Linked DNA regions of Homo sapiens: all the other regions are linked to region 1. Evidence: promoter capture Hi-C in human tissues and cell types (Jung and others, 2019). All regions are on one chromosome and are shown on one strand. The core of a region is centred on a gene start or on the middle of the fragment in contact, and the rest is flanking DNA. Distances in the headings are between cores, read along the strand shown. Region 1 holds the start of SLC25A33 (solute carrier family 25 member 33). Region 2 overlaps SPSB1 (splA/ryanodine receptor domain and SOCS box containing 1). Region 3 overlaps SPSB1 (splA/ryanodine receptor domain and SOCS box containing 1).

Region 1 (5,144 bases), core at 1,929-4,428:
CCAGCTTAACAACAGCAGCAACTAGTTACTTGGAGCAAGGCAGCACATATTCCACCGGACTAGGTGGGACCTCTGGGTGGCCTCATTTTAACCATACAATACAGCCATTTTACACTCAGCTCCTTTCATGTTCTTCCCTAACAGAAAGTAAAATATTTTAGGCTAGTGAGAGTGGATCAAAATCCAATTAGTTACTCTGAAAACATACTTTTGGAAGCTGTCTTTTCTTTCTTGAGTCTCCAATTGCTGCCAAGACAGGAACGGAAACTTGTTAAATACAATGGCTTCAGGCGCCACCCTAATGAACTACCTACATCTTAATCAAGCAGGAGAGCTGTGCTGGCCACTGCAGATGTACTCCATCACAAGGTATAAGGCTGGTGCCCTAGGAGGAGAATCTGGCAGCCAGAGGGCACAGGGAAGGGTACAGAGGGAGATTCAACAAGACAGGGCCATCCATCTCACAGTGAGCCTCAACAGAGGCTGCTCCAGCATGCAACTCTCCTGGTTTGGAATACAAAGAAAAATTGTAAAAGACCACCTCACTGGCCGGGCGCAGTGGCTCATGCCTGCAATCCCAGCACTTTGGGAGGCCGAGGTGGGCAGAGGGGGTCAGGAGATCGAGACCATCCTGGCTAACACGGTTAAACCCCGTCTCTACTAAAAATATACAAAATTAGCCGGGCGTGGTGGCGGGCACCTGTAGTCCCAGCTATTCGGGAGGCTGAGGCGGGAGAATGGCGTGAACCCAGGAGGCGGAGCTTGCAGTGAGCCGAGATGGCGCCACTGCACTCCAGCCTGGGAGACAGAGCAAGACTCCGTCTGAAAAAAAACAAAAAGCAAAAACCCACCTCACTAAAAACAGTAAGTCAAAATCACTGAGCAGAAATTCCTTTTTTTTTTTTTTTTAAATGATCCTTCTTGGCTTAAAAAACGTGTGAGACAAAAAAAAAAATGGCCAAGTTGTTTAAAATTCCCAAGAAAGACAAATTTATATAGAGTGGCTTAATTTAAGAATGCTTCCCCCTTGTGTTACTCTGAAAGGAAGTCTCTGCCGGGCATGGTGGCTCACGCCTGTAATCCCAGCAATTTGGGAGGCCAAGGTGGGCCATCACTTGAGGTCAGGAGTGCCAGCCTGGCCAACATGGCAAAACTCCGCCTCTTAGCAAAAACACAAAAAAATTAGCTGGGCGTGGCCGGGCGCAGTGGCTCACACTTGTAATCCCAGCACTTTGGGAGGCCGAGGCGGGCGGATCACGAGGTCAGGAGATCGAGACCATCCTGGCTAACACGGTGAAACCCCGTCTCTACTAAAAATACAAAAAGCTGGGCGTAGTGGCGGGTGCCTGTAGTCCCAGCTACTCGGGAGGCTGAGACAGGAGAATGGCGTGAACCCGGGAGGCGGAGCTTGCAGTGAGCTGAGATGGCGCCAGTGCACTCCAGCCTGGGCTACAGAGCGAAACTCCGTCTCAAAAAAAAAAAAAGAAAAAAAAAATTAGCCAGGCTTGGTGGCGGGGCCTGTAATCCCAGCTACTCGGGAGGCTGAGGCAGGAGAATCGCCTGAATCCGGGAGGCGGAAGTTGCAGTGAGCCCAAAGATCGCACCACTGCACTCCAGCCTGGGCGACAGAGGAAGACTCCCTCTCAAAAAAAAAAAGGAAGTCTCAATGGAGACATGGAGGGAAGGGTTGCAAGGGAATGAATGACAGGGAAGAGATGAATGAGAAACTCTTCCAATCTATGAAGACCCACCGAAGTTTTTGGTTAAAGTAACCTGGTGACTGCCCACAATACAAGTACAAAAAAAGCTCAGGGACGCTTTCATCAGTCATCTTCCAAGATAAGTTTCTCAACCATTGTTTGTTGTAAGGAACATATCCAGGTAGGAATCCAGGCTGCAACTACTCAAGCCAAGATGATCATCCCAGAATAAACTATTTTATGCAAAATATCCTACACTCAAAAATTCCTGTGCCAGGCCGATGAGGTCCTCAAATTAATACTCCAAATATCTGTAAGACTCCGAAAGGACCCCAAGCCACCGGCTGTGATAAAGGAAAAAAGAAAATTACTAATACTCAAAAATATTTTACCTTCTATTCTCGGCGGGAGGTGACAAGGGGAGGTGGCGAGGGGTACCATCTCCCTTCCTAACCGCAGAACTCAACCTCCTAAAAATGCATTGTCTCCGCTGGAAAAAAGGTGCCTGACCATAGACCTAATGCAGCTTTCAAAACAAGGAACACCTTACAATTCTGCGGTCTCTGGCGTTGGAAGCGTCTACCAGCCGGCGAGAAGTGTCTCAACACACCTTCCAGACCTCATATGAGTTCGGGTCCCTGGCTTAGCCACCCCGCGTGTGGCCGCAAGCATCACCGTTCACCAGCACCACCCAGGCCTTGCTGACGTCCAACGTCCGCAGACCTTTTTGCCCGTCCGGATGACCTCCCGCGCTGCCCTGAGGAACCTCGGGCACACCCGAGCATCAGCGATCCTACCACGGGCTCTGAGGCGCTGCGCTTCGGGAGAGGCCCCAGGAGAAGGGGGCGGGGGAGGGGGGGCCGCGCCACAGCGTCCAGGCTGGACCGCCGCCGAGCACCACTCACCGGCCACTGACTCTTCAGAATGGGGAAAAGCTGGGGACGCCGCGGGGAGGACGGGCGGCGGGGCACAGCCGCCCTCGGGGCTGCGGTCAGGACGTAGGGGTGAGGAAGGCCCGACCCCCTCCCTCGGCCCTGCCCACCAGTCCCCGACGCCGGGACTTCCTCCTCCCGAGCGCCGGCGCCGTAGCCCGGGGAAGGCCGGTAACCGCCGCGGGAGGCTGGGGCCGCGCCCGGGGCGAAGGCCGAGGGGACCGCAGGCGGTGGGGCGCGCGCGGCTGGGCCCGGGAACTCACCCGCCGGCGAAGAGGTGAAGCAGCGTGTTCTCCTTCTGCTGGCCGCCCGTCGCCATGGCCGCGCCGGCTCCGCGGCCCGTCGCCGCCCGGTGGCGAGAGCGCGTGGCGGCTCGAGGGATGCGCGAGGTCGCCGGGTCTTGTCTCCCCGCTGCCCTCAGGGGGCTGCCGGCAACGCCTCCATGCGCGCGCGGGCTCCAACGCCCGGCTCTGCTCGGCCCGCGCCTTCCGCGGCGTGGCCGCCGGCGCCTCACCGGCCTCTGCGGCGCGAGCCCGGCGGGGAGCTAGAGCCCGGCGCGCGGCCGTCACGTGGCGGGGGCCGGACCGTGACGTCACGGGCGCGCGAGTCTGGGGCGGGGCGTGACGGGGGTGTGGACCCAAATTTCGAGCGCTCATTGGTTAGGACGCGGATGTGGGCGGGGAGGTTGCGCAGTTCTGGGGCGGAGCCAGCCCCGAGCGAATGACTGGGGAGAGGGGCTGGCCTAGGCCGGAGCGTGGAGGCAGTGGAAACTGGCTGTGACTGACTGGTCCTCGCTCCTCAGAGAAGCCTCGCGAGGCCCTAGGCCTTGCCTTATTTTAAAAGTTTACTTTGTGATATTTACGTGTGCAAAAGGTGTACAAATTACGTGTTACATCTCACACCTCTGTACTCACCACCCCGTTTAGGGAAACAAAAACATAATCTAAAAATCTATAATCTAAACAGCCTTAGATAATCAGTGAGGCCCTCACGGTGGCTCACGCCTGCAATCTCAACACTTTGGGAGGCCGAGGCGGGCGGGCGGATCGCCTGAAGCCAGGAGTTACAGACCAACCTGTCCAAGACGGCGAAACCGTGTCTCTACTAGAAATACAAAAGTTAGCCGGACGAGGCGGCGCACCCCTGTCATCCCAGCTACTTGGGTGGCTGAGGCTGGATAATCGCTTGAGCCCGGGAGGCGGGGGCTGCAGTGAGCCAAGATCTTGCCACTGCACTCCAGCCTGGACGACAAAGCGAGACTCTGTCTCAAATAATTAATAATCATTATCATTATGTGGATTTTTGATCTCCCTATAAGTAGTAGTATATGCTGCGTATATTTTGCAGTATGCTTTTTGCTTCTTTTCTGATCATCTCCAGCCCAGACCTAGATATCCAAACTGCTTCTCTCAGCCTATGTCACTGGGTCATTGTCATACTCAACCTGACATCTTCTAATCTCCAGGTCTCCCCCAGATGGAGACTTTCCTGGCCGCCTTTGCAGCGCAGTCTGTCACACGACTATAGAACCAGGGCTTCTGCAGTTAGTTTGTTGATTTATTTAAGTTGTCCTTCCCATACAGGAATGTAAGCTTCAGGAGAGCAGGGACCTTATTTCTTTTGTTCACAGTTGTTCCTGACACAGTACCTGCCACCTAGTAATGCCCAAGGAGCTAATGAATAAAGGTCCCAAATTGAACTTATCATTCTTCCCCTCCCCCAAACCTGCTCTACCTCTATTTCCTGTCCTGGCAGTGACACCACTGACTGCACAGGCACCAGTGCCAGAAGCTTTCCTGTTACCTTGGACTATGTCTCTCTGTCTGTCTCTCTCTCAGCAGACCACCATTCACCTGCAGAACGTACCAACCCTTTCTCTTCCGTCTCTCAGAGCTCCGGAAAGCTGTACCTTGACCAGAACAAGCAGTTAGATGTCCTGTGTGTAAACATAGAGAGCTTAAGTAGGAGGGAATTGTGTGGAAACGTGGGAGCTAGCCAGCCAATCTGTATTTGATTGCTGGGACTCTTTAAATAAAAACAGCTCTTAGGAGCAGTCCTCCAAAATGCAAATACAGTGGTTACTATTAAAGCCATTGCTCCCAGGCCTAGGAGAAGGGGAAGCCATACTAGGGCATGAGATATCTGAGAAAAAGAAGTAAAGAAAACCCAGCACAGTGGCCCACTCCTGTCATCCCAGCACTTTGGGAGGCTGAGAAGAGTGGATGACTTGAGTCTAGTAGCTCAAGACCAGCCTGGATAACGTGGCAAAACCCTGTCTCTACAAAAGAAAAAAAAAAGTAAAAATAAATAATTTTTTATTTTTATTATATGTTTTTTTTAATTTTTATTTATTTATTTTGAGATGGAGTCTTGCTCTGTCACCCAGGCTGGAGTGCAGTGGCACGATCTCGTCTCACTGCAACCTCTGCCTCCCGGGTTCAAGCAATTCTCCTGCCTCAGCCTCCTGAGTAGCTGGGATTACAGGCATGCACCACCACACTGGGCTAATTTT
Region 2 (5,144 bases), core at 1,120-3,619, 230 kb after region 1:
TAAAGCCAGAAGGAAAAGGTGTGTCTGCAGGGGACACATGTTCTTGGGCCTGGCTTTGGACAATCGGCACGCACTGCCTCTGGCCACCTCACCTCCACTCCTTCCACACAGTTCCAAATGCCAACCAAGTAGCCTTCCCTGGGCGCCTTCCAAAACTGCGCCACTTGCAATAAGACTGACCAGGTTGAAAAAATCAAATAATAATAATAATAAAACCCAAAGAAAACCAAAACCACGCCAATTTGATGAGATGAGTCCATGCACAATCATCCAATCATTGCAAAATTCAGCTCATGAGCTGCTCGTCCAACAAAACTCCGTGCTGGCACCTGACTGTGTTACCATCAGCACTCAGGAAACTTGGGAGAATGCGGCCCTCCCCCAGTCCCCACCGCACAGCATGCTGAGGTAGGGAGAAAAAATGAATTCTAGGACGGTGTCCACGGCTGCCTGACCACATGTGTGCACTAATAATCATCAATGTGTACATTTACAATAGGCGAACTGCGTGGCGTGTGCATAATACCTCCACAGGGCTGTTACGAAAGAACCCTGTGTTAGCGCTCACTGCCTACAATATTCAGGAAGGTCAGGGACTCCCTGCTTTGTCTCATAAAAAACCAGACAGACCGGACACAATGGCTCGTGCCTGTAATCCCAGAGCTTTGGGAGGCCAAGTTGGGAAGACTGCTTGAGCCCAGGACGGGTTCGAGACCAACCTGAGCAACATAGCACTGCAGCCTGGGTGACAGAGCGAGATTCTGCCTCGAAAAAAATTAAAAAATTAAAAAATTAAAATAAAATAAAAATTAGCCAAGCGTGGTGGCATGTGTCTGTGGTCCCAGCTACTCAGGAGGCTGAGGAGGGAGGATCACTTGAGGAGTTTGAGGTGCAGTGAGCTATGATCACGCCACTGCACTCCAGCCTGGGTGACAGAGACAGGCAGGGCCAACGGTTACACCAAGACAAAAACGTCATCTGCATGAGGTCTCCTGTATCTCAATACTTAGCCACTGGCTTAAGGAGAGAAAACCAGTCCCATTTCCCTGCTTTGTCTGAGCATAGCTATTTCATCTGGCAGAGGATGAAACAGGGCTCAGTGCCACCAAGAAAATTCATACCCCCCAGGGATGCACCAAACCCACCTTTTCAGGGAGAAAATAGAGGTCCCATCCCAAACACACAAAACGTGGTAGATAAAGCCACGTTTCACGTCTACCACTCGGCAACCCCCGGCAGAAACATCCTGGGTGCTGACCCTTATCTATTCCTGCTCTTTGCCAGAAGCAGCGGGAGTTAAATCTTCTACAGAATGCTCCCCTGCCCCATAAAAAAAAGCCTAGAGATAAGAGTGAGACTGCTCTGGCTCAAGCGTTGGTTCAAGTCTGATCCTTTTCCAGGACTTTGATGCTATTTCTAAGCCCGATCGGTCTTTCCAGAAAAGAAGATGTCCCATGCATGGTGAAGAGACCAGCGAATATTTGTTGGTGCTGGGTGGTGTGGGTATGGGGTTCAGGACACCAGTCTCTCTACTCTGCCCTGTGTTTGAAATTTTCCATTATAAAAATCTCCATAAATGCAGACAGCAAAGCAAAACCTCAGCCACGCCGAGACCCATCAGGGGGAAGAAAGAAACCCCAGTCATGGGTCAGGACTCGGCTCAGACGCAGCCTCCTGGGTCGGCCCTGTCTGGGCATAGCTCTCTCAGCATAGGCACTGTGACAGCCAGGACAGAGCGGGCATTCAGGGAATACTGGCTGCATGATGAAGGCATTAAAAAAAAAAAAAAAAAACCCTTTATCCTGCGCTGTCTAGACACCCCTGAGAGTGGCGTGGGGGTAAGGACTTGGCTTTCAGGGAGCCTGGGAGGCTAGAGGCGGGAGAAGAAAGGATCTGTTCACACTGACCAGCTCCAAATTGGCCCGATAGGATACAATTAGAAGAAGGGGGGAAAATATTTATCTTTTTGAACATTCCATTTTTCCAAAGATGGCGAAGTGTTTTTAGAAGAACCCTGACATGTACGTATAATTTATATATTACGGAATTGGAATAAATTAAGCACGCTGTGGCCCCCTTAGGATGACTTCCCCAAGCTTCATAAATGCAAGGCAACCTTTCTCATTAGCACTTTCTTCAAATCTCCAAATGAGAAGACCCTCAGACAGGAGAAACACTTGAGAATCTCCCCCAACCCCCATCTGCAGAGGAATGAGGTGACAAGGTCCTGCTGCCCAGGTCTCTCTTTTTTTTTTTTTAAGACAAGGTCTAACTCCCATTGCCCAGGCTGTAGTGCAGTGGTGCAATCACAACTCACTGCAGCCTCGACCTCCCAAACTCAAGTGATCCTCCTGCCTCAGCCTCCAGAGTAGCTGGGATCACAGGCATGCACCATCACATCCAGCTAATTTTTCTGTATTTTTAGTAGAGACGGGGTTTCACCATGTTGCCCAGGCTGGTCAGGAACTCCAGGCCTCAAGTGATCTGCCTGCCTCGGCCTCCCAAAGTGCTGGGATTACAGGCATGAGCTACTGTGCCCGGCCCTTTAGGTCTTCTTGATCTATCCAGGAGCTCATCCCTTAGAAATCCAGGAAGGCGCCCCAAGAACCTCACATGAGATGCCTTTCCCCTCACAGAAATTACCGTTGTCTGAATCCTGTGAATCTTGAGTTTGCTTGAAGCTTCCTGGGATCAACCCAAGAGGCAAGTCCCACCAGCACGGGCCCTAGACTCTGTGGCCTTCCCACGGCAGGTGCAGGAGCATCATCACAGATGGCCCCTAGACTCTGTGGCCTTCCCACGGCAGGTGCAGAGGCATCATCACAGATGGCCCCTAGACTCTGTGGCCTTCCCACGGCAGGTGCAGAGGCATCATCACAGGCCCCTCACCATCCCCCACCTGAGGAGAGCTTTAGGGCAACAGGCAACACTACCCCAGCCAGAAGCCCAGGACCTCGGGCAGACCCACAGCCAAACCCCCAAGAAGACAGATAAGAGCTCCAGGCACAGCCAAACAAAATGACCAGGAAGTTGAATTGGGTCTCCCAAGGGAGACTGGTCAGGGCCCCCAGTTACCACTATTTTATTCTACTCTACTCTACTGTATTTATTTGAGACAAAGTCACACACTATTGCCCAGGCTGGAGTGCAATGGTGCAGTCTTGGCTCACTGCAAACTCTGCCTCCTGGGTTCAAGCGATTCTCCTGCCTCAGCCTCCCAAGTAGTGGGATTATGGGCATGCACCACCATCCCCGACTAATTTTTATATTTTTAGTAGAGACGGGGTTTCACTGTGTTGGTCAGGCTGGTCTCAAACTCCTGACCTCGGGTGATCCACCCGTCTCGGCCTCCCAAAGTGCTGAGATTACAGGCGTGAGCCACTGTGCCTGGCCTGATTACCACGTTTTAAATGCAAGGGAGAGCCTAGGCAACATGGCGAGACCCCATCTCTACAAAAACTTTTAAAAATTAGCCAGGTATGGTGACACATACCTATAATTCCCGCTACTCAGGATGCTGAGGTGGGAAGATCGCTTGAGCCCAGGAGTTCGAGGCTGCAGTGAGCTGTGACCGCACCACTGCACTCCAGCCTGGGTGACAGAGAGAGAATCTGTCACTCACACACACACACACACACACACACACACACACTCTCTCTCTCTCTCTCTCACACTCTCTCTCTCTCTCTCTCCGCAGGGGAGCACACAGGAATTGAGGGGGGATCTAGCTTATCTGCACATCTCAGGAACAACTTTGGAGGTGAATGGCATGGAAGTGCAAGGACACCCCATGCCCACCGACGACCCCTGGGCCTGGCATTTGATGCCCTCCCTGCTACACAGCTCTGCAGCCTTCTCCCGGTCCTCCTCATGGCAGTCAATCTCCTGGTCCCCTACCATGAAACCCCCCAGCCTAGAACAAACCCTCCTGACAGTCTCAGGAGGCCCTCTGTACCCACGCAGGCCTGGTGCCCGCCCAGCCCCTGGCAGGGAGCTCATGTTTCCTGCATACACCTGCTGGGCCACAGGCTCTCAGGGGCCTGGAGGTGCATCACACGCCTCCCAAGCTGTGCTTGGCAATAGCAGGTGCCCAATCAACAGGACTGGCACGTTCCACTGTCGCAGTAGAAAAAAACACAGGCTGTGGGGTCAGGCCCACCTTCCAGCATCCAGGGAGTCATGCCACTTCCTGCAACGCAGAAAACCTCTCTAAAAAAAAAGTCCTCCTTTCTCATCTGTAAACCGGGAGGTAACATCTAACTCACAGGACTGTTTAAGGGGTTAAAAACCCATCTACAGTGGCAAGCATAGCGCCTGGCTCATGGCACACATTCAATCAATACATGTGAAGACTATTTCAGGCAGAATCACACTCACAGCAGATGGGATCTGAGACACCCTAAACTAAATGCCGGCCCCAGCATGGGAGGGAAAAGGCAGGAACAAGTTGTCGGGAGCTCCAACAAGGAAGGGGCCAGTGGTCCCCCAGTTGATGACAGCTTAGGTTTTCTCTCGTGCCTGAGGCAACCCCACCCATCTGCTTTCTAGAAACTGTCCCCCGACCCACAGTCAGGGCACCGTGGCTCCGGGGGCCCTGGGTATGCAGGACCTACTGCTGGGTATGCAGGACCTGGGTATCCATGACCCCACCAAGGATGGGCCCAGGGCAAATGGCCCCCTTGCTAGGTGCCACCAGTCAGGGCAACTGCAGCACTGCCCCAACAGCACTGGCAAGAAGCTCCTAAGCACACTTCTGTCATCCTCTCTGTCAAATGAGAGGCAGTCCACCCCCTTTGGGCCTGACATGTCTTGGAAAACACTGGAAGGAATGGAATTAAGACAGTAACTTGCTAAAGCTGAAGTTCTGGTCCCAGACGGGTTAACAGGATTTGGAAGGGGCACCAAATTGCAATACTGTCAGCAACCAATCCTGGAAACAGCTCCTGCCCCCCAGGAGGAGGAGCACCATGAGTTACAGACTCCCAGCCTCAGGGTCGGTCCCCATGGGGCACCTCTGGCATCACAGTTGAGGGGGACCATGGCGAGGAGGGAGTGGCACAGGGTAAGCCTGGGAGGGGCCACGCGCACCCCGAAGACCACATCATGGATTTACAAATTCACCGTAATAGCAATGGGAACTGCTG
Region 3 (5,144 bases), core at 1,715-4,214, 210 kb after region 1:
ATACAAAAATTAGCCAGGCATAGTGGCACGCGCCTGTAGTCCCACCTACTTGGGAAGCTGAGGCAGAAGAATCGCCTGAACCTGGGAGGCGGAGGTTGCAGTGAGCCGAGATCACACCATTGCACTCCAGCCTGGGCAACAGAGTGAGACTCTGCCTTAAAAAAAAAAAAAAAAAAAAGAAGCTGACAAGAAGACAGAACTGACAGGAAGTAGAAGTGGACTTGAAAAAGGAGATAAATGCATATAAGACCAGGCCCTAAATGGCTAAGAATTAGGGACAGGCTGCTGTCCAGGAAGTGACAGATGGCTGTGCTGGTCCCTCTGGGAGCAGACACTGAACAGGGCAGACCAAGGTTCTCACCGAAGAAGGTGGGTTCCATGTTTCTGGCCATTTTCCCATGGAGTGTGCACCTGGGAGGCTGATTCTTGGACCCTGGGGGTTTGCTGGGTGCCTGACGCAGCCCACGAGGGCAGAAGCTCAGTGAGCACTTGCTGGTGGAGAGCACTGAAACCAAGTCTCAGCCACGGAGCCCAGGATGGGGCCCAGGCCAGAACCACCCACAGCCGATGCCCTCTCCTGCTGCCACCACACTTCCTGTGGTCTCCGTCACCCTCTACGCACTCAGGCTGCAGAAGCAGCAAGCTGACCTCAGGCCTAGACCCTGCAGGGAAAATGCTCTTCCAAGATCATGACCTCCTAATCGATAAATTGAACGGGCCCAAAAAACAAGCATCCTCTCTCTACCTCTCAACTGTATCTGAAAATACCACCATGCCCTTGACCTGAAACGCTCCTAGTTTTGTGACAGTATCTGACTCACTCTCTAAGGTTCTGTCTCAGCTCCTCCGCCTGTTCTTCCTGCTCCTTACACACAGATGTTTTTGAGGGTCTCTCCCTCCACAGGACCTCCCTCCGTGGGATCCTTTGCTCTCATGGCTCCAGGGAGTGTCTGCCTGTGAACCTGACGTGTCCACCAAATATCATCTCCCCAGCAGTGACCCTGCTCCCACTCATACATCCCTTGTAGACTCAAATGGCCCCCTCCTGGCCTCTACAATGCTGCCAATTTCTATCATCAACCTCTAGTTCACCCAGATTCAAACCCCTCATCTCCCTCAATTCCTCCTCTTCTTGGCTTCCCACATTAGCGCCAAACATTGTAAATTGCTGCCCCCATAGTTGCTGAATCCCACCTTCACTCTCACTGTTTAAGTCATCACTTGCAAGGCCACTGCAAGAGTCTCCAAGTCCCTTAGATCTCAGCCCACTCAAACAAATCTTCCTAAAACGCTCTCATTGAGATTTTTTTTTTTTTTTGGTAGAGGTGGGGTCTCACTATGTTGCCCAGGCTATTCTCAAACTTCTGGCCTCAAGCAATCCTCCCACCTTGGCCTCCCAAAGTGCTGGGATTTATAGGCATCAGCCACCTCGTCTGGCCAAGGCTTTTTTAAATTTTGAAAATCTGTAATTCAAACACGTACAAAAGAGTCACATATTTTCAACACTCAAACTGTCAACAGTTTGGCACATTTGTTTTTGGTCCTTTTATTACACAATAGTCAAATAGCCAGAGGACTGGAACAGACAATGCAAAGAAAAAGTAAATGCAAACAGTAAGTAAACTTGTAGGAAAAGAAGCTCAACCTCCCATGGAGACAAAAGGACATAAAAGAAAAGCAGTAATGAGATCGCACGTTGCACCCTCCAGATTGCTACAGAGTCAATACAGAGATGGTGCCTCCTGTCTACACACAGGAAGCGGAGAGCAAGTACCAACGTGGCTGGTGGGATCTGAATCCGGCAGCTTCGGGGAAATGAATGGCAACTGATCCAACAATTCCACCCCTGGTGCGTGAGCCCATAAGAATGAGTGCCGGCTAGGCACGGTGACTCACGCCTGTAATCCCAGCAGTTTGGGAGGCTAAGGCAGTGGATCAACTGAGGTCAGGAGTTCAAGACCAGCCTGGTCAACATGATGAAACCCCGTTTCTACTAAAAATACAAAAAATTAGTCGGGCATGGTGGCGCATGCCTGTAATCCCAGCTACCCAGGAGGCAGAGGCAGGAGAATCGCTTGAACCCAGGAGGCAGAGGTTACAGTGAGCCAAGATCGTACCACTGTACTCCAGCCTGGGCAACAAGAGTGAAACTCCACCTCAAAAAAAAAAAAAAAAAAAAAAAAAACAAGAGCACCAGTAGCAGAAGGAGATCCATAACGGGTATTTATGACAGAGGTGCGGCCACTTCCTGCCACTCCAAATCGAGTGCACAGTCATTGACAAAGGTCACTTAGGCAGACCACTCTGATATGTTTGCACCATGAACCGTTGTTACACAGCAATTAAAAAGACGAGGTAGAACCACATCAGTGAGCCTGGAGACACTTCCACAAGCATTCAGCGGGGAGAGCACGACAGAATATGAAAGGAGAGCCCATTCTAATAAAATAATGGCATCCCCAAAGATGCAGACATACAGGTCAGTGCAGGCAGGGAGGTATGGAACTACTCTGGGTATATCATCCTTCAATAAAAGATTTAGGATTTTTTTTTAAGTATGTAAAAAAAAAAGACGCAGAAAATTACAAGTGTTGGCAAGGATGTGGAGAAACCGGAACCCTTGGGTATCACTGATGGAAACGCAAAATGGCACAGCCGCTGGACACAGTAGGGTGGTTCCTCAAACTCAAAATGATCGTACGATCCGGTAATGTACTCAACGCTACTGAACTGCACGTCTTAAATGGTTAAGATGGTAAATTTTAGGTTTTTGTATGTTTTACCACGATTAAAAAAAAAAAAGTTCAGAAGAACATGCTCCAGTCTAACATCAGTTTGGGAAGGGAGAGAAAAAGGAGGGGAGGAAAGGAAGAGGACAGGCAAACCCAAAATACTCCCCCAAACGTGTCGGGTGAAGTTAGGGATACGTGTGTCCAGATCACAAGGTCCAGCTGGCAGGATGTTACTGTGGTTCCCTTGGGGTGGTAGGAGTAAGGAGACTGGCAAATCTTTATTATTATTATTATTATTGTTATTATTTTGAGACAGAATTTAGCTCCTGTCGCCCAGGCTGGAGCGCAGTGACACAATCTTGGCTCACTGCAACCTCCGCCTCCCGGGTTCAAGCGATTCTCCTGCCTCAGCCTCCTGAGTAGTAGAGATGCACCACCACGCCCGACTAATTTTGTATTTTGTATTTTTAGTAGAGACGGGGTTTCACCGTGTTGCCCAGGCTGGTCTCAAACTCCTGACCTCAGGTGATCCGCCCGCCTCAGTCTCCCAAAGTGCTGGGATTACAGGCGTGAGCCACCGTGCCCAGCCTGGTACATCTTTATGTGTACATATCAGGTGTCATTCAGATTCTTCTCGATGAGCAAGCACCTAGCAATTATTTACGCCACTGATCTTTGACAAACTACAGTGAGAAGAGATGCCTTGTGTCCTCAGAATGGAGGTAAGAGACCCATGCAGATGGTCAGGTTTCCCTTTTGCTCTTTGCAAAAATGTGCAGTCACCTGCTCCTGGGCCACTCTGAACCCGCTGTCCTGTCATCCACAGCAATTTTCTCCCTGGACTCTAGGAATCAGTCCCAGAAAAGATTCCAAAGGCCTCATAGTATCCAAGTTTTGAGAAGAAATGTCTGCAGAGTCACGTTACCCACAGAACGCTCTCTTCTACCTCCACACCCAAGCCTACCATCCCCACGGCCCCACCGCCATGTGTCCGATGCCGAGATCTGGGAAGTCTCCTGGACTCCAGCACTAACTTCTTTCTTTCTTTTCTCTTTTTTTTTTTTTTTTTTGTTGTTGTTTTTGAAATGAGGTCTCACTCTGTCACCCAGGCTGGAGTGCAGTGGTGTGATCTCGGCTCACTGCAACCTCCCCATCCTGGTTCAAGGGATTCTCCTGCCTCAGCCTCCTGAGTAGCTGGGACTACAGGCGCATGCCACTGTGCCTAATTTTTGCATTTTTTGTAGAGACGGGGTTTCATTGTGTTGGCCAGGCTGTCCAGCACTAACTTCTGATGGGTGGCCATGCCCATCTTCCCAAAGGCTCTCTTCCCTACTCCCTTCCTCGGATCCTCTCACCTGACCTACCCACCACCGGGTGTCACCTCCCCTGACCTCTCCATCACTGCCCTCCAGCCCTTGGCATGAAGTTCCTGGACTGAGACACTCACACACGTCCACCCATCCGCCTGTCCACCTGTCCACCCATCCACCCATCCGGGATCTCACCTTTCCTCCCTCTCCAGCTGCATTTCCCCCCACCCACAAACCCTCAACCGGCTGTGCTCGGGCCCCATGCAGACTGAACCACCTGCAGTGCCCCTCACACTGCTTCATACAACTGCCCTTAGGTGTCTTCAATTCTCCCCCTTGGGAGGCTGTCCCCGCCACCCTGTCCCCCACGCGAACTCCTACACATCTGCCAGAGCTCCAGCAAGTCTTTCTGCCCTTTACTGGCAAATTCCAGCAAATGCAGGGCCCGCCCCTAGTAGGACAGAGCAGTGGTTTTCAACCTGGGTGATTTTACTACCCTCCCTCCTTCACCCCAGCGTACCCTGGGAGATTTGGCAATGTCTGGAGACACATGTGGGGCTCACAAGTTGGGGTGGCGTCTGGTGGGTGGGGGCCAGGGATATTGCTAAACGCCCAGCCACGCCCGACACAAGCCTCACATCAACAATTCCCCTGCCCTATGTCAACAGTGCCATGTTGGGAAGCCCCAGCGCAGAGTGAGCTTCAGGTGAAAAGACGCAGGGTATTCCTGGGACAAAACCATCTTCACGTGCCCAGAAGCACCACCTAGGACCCAACACCTGTGACCCTGTGTCAACTCCATGGCTCTCCCAGGCCAGAGGGAGGCAGTGGGTGGGGCGTTGGTGCTCACCCCAACACACTCATCAGCCTCTGGGTTACCCCGAACGAGATGTTTACCTCTCTGGGCCTTAGAGTCCCTGTTTATAAAACGAAGCATTGAAAGAAATCAGCTCTTCCCCCGAAGTGGCCTTGACGGATTCTTAAGGCATTTGAAATCATGTCTGAGCTGGGTTAGGAAACATCATATCCCCTCCTAGAGAGTCACAAACGCATCAGCATCTTAAAGGCTCTGAGAAGTCCCGCAGGACAGAAACGCAAGGTT

What was found. The method cuts DNA at HindIII sites, captures the fragments that hold promoters and counts their contacts. A contact is called where the count stands out against the background at its distance.
Region 2: a fragment that was not itself captured here is called in contact with the fragment with the promoter of SLC25A33 in region 1 in 2 of the 25 tissues and cell types used here (lymphoblastoid cells and mesenchymal stem cells).
Region 3: a contact is called between a fragment that was not itself captured here and the fragment with the promoter of SLC25A33 in region 1, in 2 of the 25 tissues and cell types used here (bladder and thymus).

The regions. Positions count from the first base shown.
Region 1 is chr1:9,537,499-9,542,642 of GRCh38, reverse strand. SLC25A33 (solute carrier family 25 member 33) reads right to left here and starts at 3,178. Exons shown (of 7, transcript NM_032315.3): 1 at 2,896-3,178. The coding sequence starts at 2,951. RefSeq lists enhancers at 798-1,297, 2,323-2,452, 3,119-3,413 and silencers at 2,523-2,882, 2,903-3,422. The HindIII fragment of the contact is 17,899 bases long and covers 1-5,144 here.
Region 2 is chr1:9,307,810-9,312,953 of GRCh38, reverse strand. All of the region lies in intron 1 of SPSB1 (splA/ryanodine receptor domain and SOCS box containing 1), which reads right to left. Among named protein-coding and RNA genes, the nearest start is that of SPSB1, 17 kb to the right of the region's middle. The HindIII fragment of the contact is 5,086 bases long and covers 1-4,912 here.
Region 3 is chr1:9,328,363-9,333,506 of GRCh38, reverse strand. All of the region lies in intron 1 of SPSB1 (splA/ryanodine receptor domain and SOCS box containing 1), which reads right to left. Among named protein-coding and RNA genes, the nearest start is that of SPSB1, 38 kb to the right of the region's middle. The HindIII fragment of the contact is 8,123 bases long and covers 1-5,144 here.